Linked DNA regions of Homo sapiens: region 1 is linked to region 2. The links are contacts of gene promoters, found by promoter capture Hi-C in blood cells and fetal thymus (Javierre and others, 2016). All regions are on one chromosome and are shown on one strand. The core of a region is centred on a gene start or on the middle of the fragment in contact, and the rest is flanking DNA. Distances in the headings are between cores, read along the strand shown.

Region 1 (4,272 bases), core at 614-3,113, 500 kb before region 2:
GACTTTGTTTATATGTCAATTGTTTTCAAAAAATCATGTAAATAAAATCCTATTTCAAAAGCAGGAGGAGAGGTTAGGAAGGCTGTCATTTATTAATTACACATTCACACATACAAACAAACAAACAAAAATCCTGTGTAGTTAGTCTTTTCATAGTGTAAACTGCCCTTTGGGTTTGTTCCAGAAGTTTGCATGTTTCTAACAGAGTTTTCCTAAGTGTACAGCCATATAAATTTGGAAAAAGAAAAATTTTAGTGTTTCCATGTAGGAAACAAAAGCAGTCTTAGGGCAATCAATTTCCTATCCCTTTTGTTATATACATCACTACAAAGGATGATTGCGTGACATGGCCTTAATATGGCCATAAAAATGATTAACTTCTAGACTAAAAAAAGGATAACGCGCTAAATATATTCCACATATTTTTGCCTTGTAATTCCTGTAATTATTTTTCACTATCTTTATCTCCCAAAGAAAGATCTGGGAGCAATAAATCTTTCTCTCCAATAAAAAGCACTAACAATCAAAGGCGTTCCGTAAATCCAGAGAAAGTTTTGGCAACTAAGGCAGAATTTCTTCCGTCCCGTCCTTACTTCATGTATCTCCACCTAGGATATTCCGTTATTAATGCCAGTCAACAGTCACTGGCTAAAGCACTGGTCAGGTGAAGCTAAATAATAGAGGGTCTGGTTTTGTTTTTAAGAAAAACAAAAACCAGGTGATGAGAACCCTCCATACGAGGCATCCTAAGGTAAGGTGACGGAATTTTCCGACTGGAGTGTCGGAAACTAGCCTCTCGACTCCCGGAAGGAATGAACTGCGAGCCAGAGAGAAGACCAGGTCATTCATGCGGTCAGTAGCAAGGGCGGCGCTAAAACGCTGGGGTCGGGGCTCCCAAGGCGCTACCTAAACCCCGGACCCCAAGGCCAGAGCCACCCCCGACGGTGCAGCGCTCCGAGGGCGCAGCCCCAGCTCCACTCTCCCGCCAGCTCCACACTCACAGGGCAGAGGCGGTGAGGAGAAGACCGCCTGAGGCAGCAGGCGAGGCGGGAAGACACTCGGCGCCTGAGACAGAGGGAATGCCCCGATATAAGTTGAGGCGGGGGAGAGGACTAAAGGTCTGGAGGACAGGGGCGTCCAGAGGAGAAAGGGGCCTAACTCTCACCCTTGTCGCACGCCAGCAAGAAAAGCTTCTCATTCAGCGTATTCTCCTCCTTCACCTCCCGCACATCCTTCAGCGCCATCACCTCGTTCGGCGAGGAAGAGGATGGAGAGGAAGGCAGGGAGGAGGAGGAGGCGCCCGAGAGGTCCGTGCTCGGGTACAGGGCCGCCATCATCGCGGCCCATGAAGGGGGCAGGCCAGGAGACGGGGGCGGGGCCCCCACCGGCCCCGACCCCGACCCCGACCCCAGCCACGCCCCAGGGCTGGAAAAAGGATGAGTCGTTCCCACTGCTGCCTCGGCTCGAGGCCCGTTGGCCCCGAAGGGCGTCGCCTCCCCTGAGAACCAGCACTCGCCCTCCACTGACAGCCCCAAGTTGGTGGCGGCGCATGCGCGGCCCCGGGGCCAGCGACCCCTCCCCAGCCGCCGGCGCCCCGGCCGAGCCGGTCCGCGCCCGTCCGGGGACGACAGTGTGGCGCGCGCCAGGGCGGCAGCCGAGCACGGGGCCGTGCCAGGAGTCGCAGGGGCCGCGCCTGGGGCGGCCTAGCCCAGGAAGAGGACGAGAGATCTGTGGGAGAGGAGCTCCAAGAGGCGCTTCTGCGCACGTTGGGCTCCAGGGCTGTGGGAACCGCTGGCCCAGCTGCGCTCCGAGGAGATGTTCGCGACTCTGTCCTCACGTCATCCTCTGCTCCTCTGTAGCGACGACACTAGGGAGGAGCCTGCGGCAAGGGCGGGCTTGGGTGGGCGGGGCCTGCGGCAAGCGGGGCGTGGGTGGGTGGGGCCTGCGGTGGGGACGCACTGGGCTCCTGGAGCCCGCTGCAGCTTCCTTCGCTCTGGTGAGGTGAACCGCAGTCTGAGGAAGACTTCGCTCAATCGTCCCTTTCCACACCCAGGGTACTGGTTTAAGGTAATTAAGCAAATATGGAGCAGTATGTTAATTGAGTCTCTGACGACTTAATGTTTAGTCGAAATCCTTTGTGGAATTGTCCAGCTATTTCATATTCTGGTGCACTATGCTTTAAAGCACAATGGAGAGCCAGACTCGTGGGTTTGTATGTTGTACTCATTTTAGGCTGGAAATGAACTCTCATTTATAAAGGATATATAGATATATAATTATATTATGTTTAAATAATTTATACAAATATATAAATTTTTATTTCCATATTATTTCCATAGGTTTTTGAGGAACAGGTGGTGTTTGGTTACATGAGTAAGTTCTTTAGTGATGATTTGTGAGATTTTGATGTACCCATCATCGAGCAGTATACACTGAACCTAATTTTGTAGTCTTTTATCCCTCTCCCCCTTCCCAACCTTTCCCCGAGTCCCGAAAGTCCATTGTGTCATTCCTATGCCTTTGCATCCTCAAAGCTTAGCTCTCACTTGTGAGTGAGAACATACGATGTTTGGTTTTCCATTCCTGAGTTACTTCATTTAGAATAAGAATAATAGTCTCCAGTCCCATCCAGGTTTCTGCGAATGCCATTTATTCATTCCTTTTTATGGCTGAGTAGTATTCCATCATTATATATATATCACATATATATATACCACATATATATATATATATATATATATCACAGTTTCTTTATCCACTCATTGATTCATGGGCATTTGGGTTGGCTCCACATTTTTGCAATTGCGAATTGTGCTGCTATAAATATGCATGGGCAAGTATCTTTTTCGTGTAATGACTTCTTTTCCTCTGGGTAGATACCCAGTAGTGGGATTACTGGATCAAATGGTAGTTCTACTTTTAGTTCTCTAAGGAATCTCCACACTGTTTTCCATAGTGGTGTACTAGTTTACAGTCCCACCAGTAATGTAGAAGTGTTCCCTTTTCACCGCATCCACACCAACAGCTATTATTTTTTGATTTTTTTGATTATGGCCATTCTTGCGGAAGTAGGGTGGTACATACGGCATAGCAGTTTTGACTTGGAATTCCCTGATCATTAGTGATCTTGAGCATTTTTTCATATGTTTGTTGGCCATTTGTGTATCTTCTTTTGAGAATTGTCTATTCATGTTTTTTTGTTTTTTCTTGAGACAGAGTTTTGCTCTTGTTGCCCAGGCTGGAGTGCAATGGCGTGATCTTGGCTCACCGCAACTTCCGCCTCCCAGGTTCAAGTGATTCTCCTGCCTCAGCCTTCCGACCAGCTGGTATTACCGGCATGTGCCACCACACCCGGCTAATTTTGTATTTTTAGTAGAGACAGTGTTTCTCCCTGTTGGTCAGGCTGGTCTCGAACTCCAGACCTCAGGTGATCTGCCTGCCTCAGCCTCCCAAAGTGCTGGGATTACAAGCATGAGCCACTGCCCCCAGCCCTTTTCATGTTTTTAGCCCAGTTTTTGTTAGGATTTTTTTTTTCTTGATTATTTGTTTGAATTCATTGTAGATTCTGGATAGTAGTCCTTTGTCAGATGCATAGATTATGAAGATTTTCTCCCACTCTGTGGGTTGTCTGTTTACTCTGCTAACTCTTCCCTTTGCCATGCAAAAGCTCTTTCATTTAATCAAGTCCCAGCTATTTATCTTTCTTTTCATTGCATTTGCTTTTGGGTTCTTGGTCATGAAATCCTTGCCTAAGCCAATGTCTACAAGGGGTTTTCCGATGTTATCTTCTAGAATTTTTATAGTTTCAGGTCTTAGATTTAAGTTCTTGATCCATCTTGAGTTTATTTTTGTATAAGGTGAGAGATGCAGATCCAGTTTTATTCTCCTACGTGTGGCTTGCCAATTATCCCAGCACCATTTGTTGAATAGGGTGTCTTTTCCCCCACTTTATGTTTTTGTTTGCTTTGTTGAAAATCAGTCGGCTGTAAGTATTTGGGTTTATTTCTGGGTTCTCTATTCTGTTCCATTGGTCTATATGCCTATTTTTATGCCAGTACCATGCTGTTTTGGTGACAGTAGCCTTATAGTATAGTTTGAAATCAGGTAATGTGATGTCTCCAGATTTGTTCTTTTCGCTTCATCTTGCATTGGCTATGCAGGCTCTTTTTTGGTTCCATATGGATTTTAGGATTATTTTTTCTAGTTCTGTGAAGAATGATGGTGGTATTTTGATGGGAATTGCATTGAATTTGTAGATTGCTTTTGGCAGTA
Region 2 (4,122 bases), core at 1,233-3,732:
CTCACGCTTGTAATCCCAGCACTTTGGGAGGCCGTGGCGGGCGGATCACGAGGTCAGGAGATCCAGACCATCCTGGCTAACATGGTGAAACCCCGTCTCTACTAAAAATACAAAAATTAGCTGGGCATGGTGGAGAGGGCCTGTAGTCCCAGCAACTTGGGAGACTGAGGCAGGAGAATCGCTTGAATCCGGGAGGCGGAGGTTGCAGTGAGCCGAGATCGCAGCACTGCACTCCAGCCTGGGCAAACAAGGGCAAAACTCCGTCTCAAAAAAGAAAAAAAAAAAAAAAGAATGATTTGGCTGGGCACAATGGCTCACACCCATAATCCCAGCACTTTGGGAGACAAAGGTGGGAGGATCACTTGAGGCCAGGAGCTCAAGACCAGCCTGGCCAATATGGCGAAACAGAGTCTCTACAAAAAAATGCAAAAATTAGGCGGGCGTGGTGGTTGTAGTCCCAGCTACATGGGAGGCTAAGGCAGTTGGATCGCCTGAGCCCGGGAGGTCGAGGCTGCAGTGAGCTGAGATGGCACCACAGCACTCCAGCCTGGGCGACAGAGCAAGACCCTGTCTAAAAAAAGTTTTGATTCAAAATGAGTATGTATGTATGTATGTATGTAAGTATGTATGTATGTATGTATGTATGTATGTATGTATGTATGTATGTATTTTGAGGCAGAGTCTTGCTCTGTCGCCCAGGCTGGAGTGCAGTGGCATGATCTCGGCTCACTGCAACCTCCGCCTCCCGGCTTCAAGTAATTCTCCTGCCTCAGCCTCCCCCGTAGCTGGGATTGCAGGAGCCCGCTACCACGCCCGGCTAAGTTTTGTATTTTTGTAGAGACGGGGTTTCACCATGTTGCCCAGGCTGCTCTCAAACTCCTGACCTCAAGTGATCCGCCCGCCTCGGCCTCCGAAAGTGCTGGGATTACAGTCGTGAGCCCCCGCGCCCAGCCAAAATGATTATCTTTTACCTTTTAATTGACATACCAGTTGGCACTGTTAAACGTTTTCACACAAAACATATATTCATATGTTTGCTAATTTTACAAAAAGAAGATAAGGAATATTTTCAGGCCCCGGCTTCACAGATTGCTGGTGGCAGTGGAGAGGTGGGTGGCGCAGGTGGAACCACCTCCCCACTACTTGCAGATCAGGACCCTCCCCGGGAAAGCTCCAGGCCCAGGAACCTAAGCCGCAAGAATCTCGAAATTTCCACAGGACACCTTGTTCCTTTTGGCCAAGTGTCTGGATGAGCCCATCCCCTTGGGCAGCAACAAAAGGTAAAGGGTCTCTGTGAGGCTTTCAGATTCCAAAAAAAAGCAACCGCTGGAGTGGAGTGTGATGGTCAAAGCAGCCACCTTAAGCTTTCTCCTTTCTTTCCCACTAGAGGGCTGAGAAAAGTCTTCTTCCTTGCGTTGTATTTCATTTGGCAAATATTTACCGCTTTGTATTGTGTGCAAACTTTACCAGGTTTTCTGGGAAGAGAAGTCGTGGGGAGCTCTCAGTTTGTTAATAAATATTAATACTTTTGGCCAAATTTTGAATTTTTTATGTCACTTGTTTTATTTCATTTTTGAAAAACAGCACTTTATTTCATTTAACTCTAGCATATTCAATGGCTGTGCATTTAATAATACTGAAATAAAGTCGCACCCAAAATGTTAGCAAAAAAATGGAAACTATATATGGTAGTGACCTCTACAAATGTTTTAAGCTTGAAAAATTCTGCACGAACGCAGACACAGGTTAGTCTGCCAAAGTTACTCAGATAAAAATTTCTCCAACCCTCAAGTCATAATCATAGTTGAGAAATGAATAAATGTGCCTTATGGCACCTCCAAACTTTTTGAGATTTTTATATAAACTAGCCTATACTTCTCTCCTTACGATTAGCATATGGGGTAGCTATTTTTCTTTAACAGAGATTCTTCAAATGTAGCTAGGGTTAAGAGAAACGCTGGCGCTGCCTCTCAGGAAGCTGGAGAAGCAAAAGAAAAAATTAAGAGTTAAGGGCCGCCGGGCTCGGTGGCTCACGCCTGCAATCGCAGCAATTTGGGAAGCCGAGGCGAGCGGATCACGAGATCAGGAGATCGAGACCAGCCTGATCAACATGGTGAAACCCCTTCTCTACTAAAAATACAAAAATAGCCGGGCGTGGTGGAGCGCGCCTGTAATCCCAGCTACTCGGGAGGCTGAGGCAAGAGAATCGCTTGAACCCGGGAGGCGGAGGTTGCAGTGAGCCGAGATCGCGCCACCGCACTCCAGCCGGGGCGACAGAGTGAGACTCCGTCTCAAAAAGAAAAAAAACAAGAGTTAAGGGCCAAGTCAATCCAACCGCGGCCGGCGACTGGAGGCTGAGCATGGCTGGCGATCTGGGGCTGCAGATCACGGCGCAAACCCGCTCACCTCCACCCCTCCCGCGCGGCCGCCGGCGCGCGCCCGTGGCGTCACGGCGTCGGGGTGGAGCCGGCGGCAGGGGCCAGGCCTCTCTAGGCTCTCCGGCTGAGCCGGGTTGGGGCCCGGGTTGGGCCGCCCGGGGACTCTGGAGCATTGGGATTTGTAGCGCGCCCTCTGGGTAGGCGGCTGTAGCGGAGAGGCGTGCGGGATCGGGATGTCGGGGCTGCTCACGGACCCGGAGCAGAGAGCGCAGGAGCCGCGGTACCCCGGCTTCGTGCTGGGGCTGGATGTGGGCAGTTCTGTGATCCGCTGCCACGTCTATGACCGGGCGGCGCGGGTCTGCGGCTCCAGCGTGCAGAAGGTGACTTGGGGGCGGGCGTGGGGCGCGGGTCTGACTGGGTTTCGCTGAGTCCCGGGGTCCGGCCTCGGGAGGCGAGCGGGCAGGCCCCACCTACCGCCCTGGACGCGGCCACCTGCAGCACCCGCGGGCCCTGGGGCCAGAACGGCGCGCCCAGACCGGCTGAGTCTTCGCGTTCCCTCCCTCGTCTGGGCTGAATCCCGCGCGCCCTTCCTGTCCAGGCTGAGGGTGCCAGGGGCCCGGTGTATGACCTGGGCCGCTCGCTTGCCTCTTGCCACCTGGGGAGCCACCTGTCCGGCCTTACCTGGATGGGACTGAGGTGACTCGCCGGACGGGACTGGGCAGGCTGTGCACATCCAGCCAGAGGGTGGTTTGTGAGTTGCTTGGTTCTTCCTGCACTTCCCTGATAGATCTCCCACCACATCTTTATTTACATTTTAATTTTTCAAAACTTTTTTTCTTTTTTCTTTATTATAGCCTTTGGACTTGTGCCTCAATAACTTTTCATATCTTTGTAGAATTTAAGTTTATTCTCTATTCTTCACTTGTCATCTTTATTAACTACTACTCCACAAAATGCTGGTTCCTTACGTGAGCAACTGATTGCCGTGGATATTAGAGGTATTGGGCAAGTTTTGAAGGCTGTGTGGTCATCAGTTTTCTATTTTCCATCTTTGAGAATTCATAAAATTCTTTATTTCCCCTCGTTTGAGAGACCTGCCAAATCATTGGTTGGTTGTTAGTAAAGCCTTGAATTGTTGATAATATTGGTCAGCAACCAACAAATTGATATCCTTCTGTTCTCATATTAATGAAGTGTTGATTTATACACAATTGTCAATGCACCAAAAATAATATTTATTTGTTATGGTGTTCTTATTGTTGTTCCTTTTTTTCTTTTGAGACAGGGTCTCACTTTGTCACCCAGGCTGGAGTGCAGTGCTGTGATCTCGGCTCACTGCAGCTTTGACCTCCTGGGCTCAAGTGATCCTTCCACCTCAGCCCCCCAAGTAGCTGGGACTACAGGCAAGGGGCCACCATGCCTGGCTAAATTTGTTTGTATTTTTTAATAGAGATGGGATTTTGCCATGTTGCCCAGGCTGGTCTGGAAATTCCTGGGCTCAAATAATTCACCCGCCTCGGCCTCCCTAAGTGCCAAGATTACAGGCGTGAGCCACTGCAGCCAGCCTGTTATGGTGTTCTTATTTTCTCTTCCCAGTACCAACATCTTTTTATGTTAGAAATTTGAGGGAGGGCCGGAGCCATCAGTTACCTAACCATTCCCAGCAGCACTGTATTCCCCCTTTTTCTCAGTGTCCCGTTCTTCTTCCCACCACCTTAGAGGTGTTTTTCTTTGTAGCACTTGC

The links. The method cuts DNA at HindIII sites, captures the fragments that hold promoters and counts their contacts. A CHiCAGO score of 5 or more calls a contact.
Region 1: a contact is called between the fragment with the promoter of TRPC1 here and the fragment with the promoter of GK5 in region 2, in 7 of 17 cell types (activated CD4 T cells, total B cells, non-activated CD4 T cells and 4 more). The highest score is 8.3, in activated CD4 T cells.

Annotation. Positions count from the first base shown.
Region 1 is chr3:142,721,625-142,725,896 of GRCh38, reverse strand. It overlaps TRPC1 (transient receptor potential cation channel subfamily C member 1), which reads right to left and starts at 1,863. Exons shown (of 13, transcript NM_001251845.2): 1 at 1,166-1,863. The coding sequence starts at 1,337. RefSeq lists an enhancer at 445-1,311 and a silencer at 1,570-1,619. The HindIII fragment of the contact is 1,344 bases long and covers 1,193-2,536 here.
Region 2 is chr3:142,223,945-142,228,066 of GRCh38, reverse strand. It overlaps GK5 (glycerol kinase 5), which reads left to right and starts at 2,482. Exons shown (of 16, transcript NM_001039547.3): 1 at 2,482-2,758. The coding sequence starts at 2,612. RefSeq lists silencers at 2,299-2,538, 2,729-2,948. The HindIII fragment of the contact is 7,101 bases long and covers 1,717-4,122 here.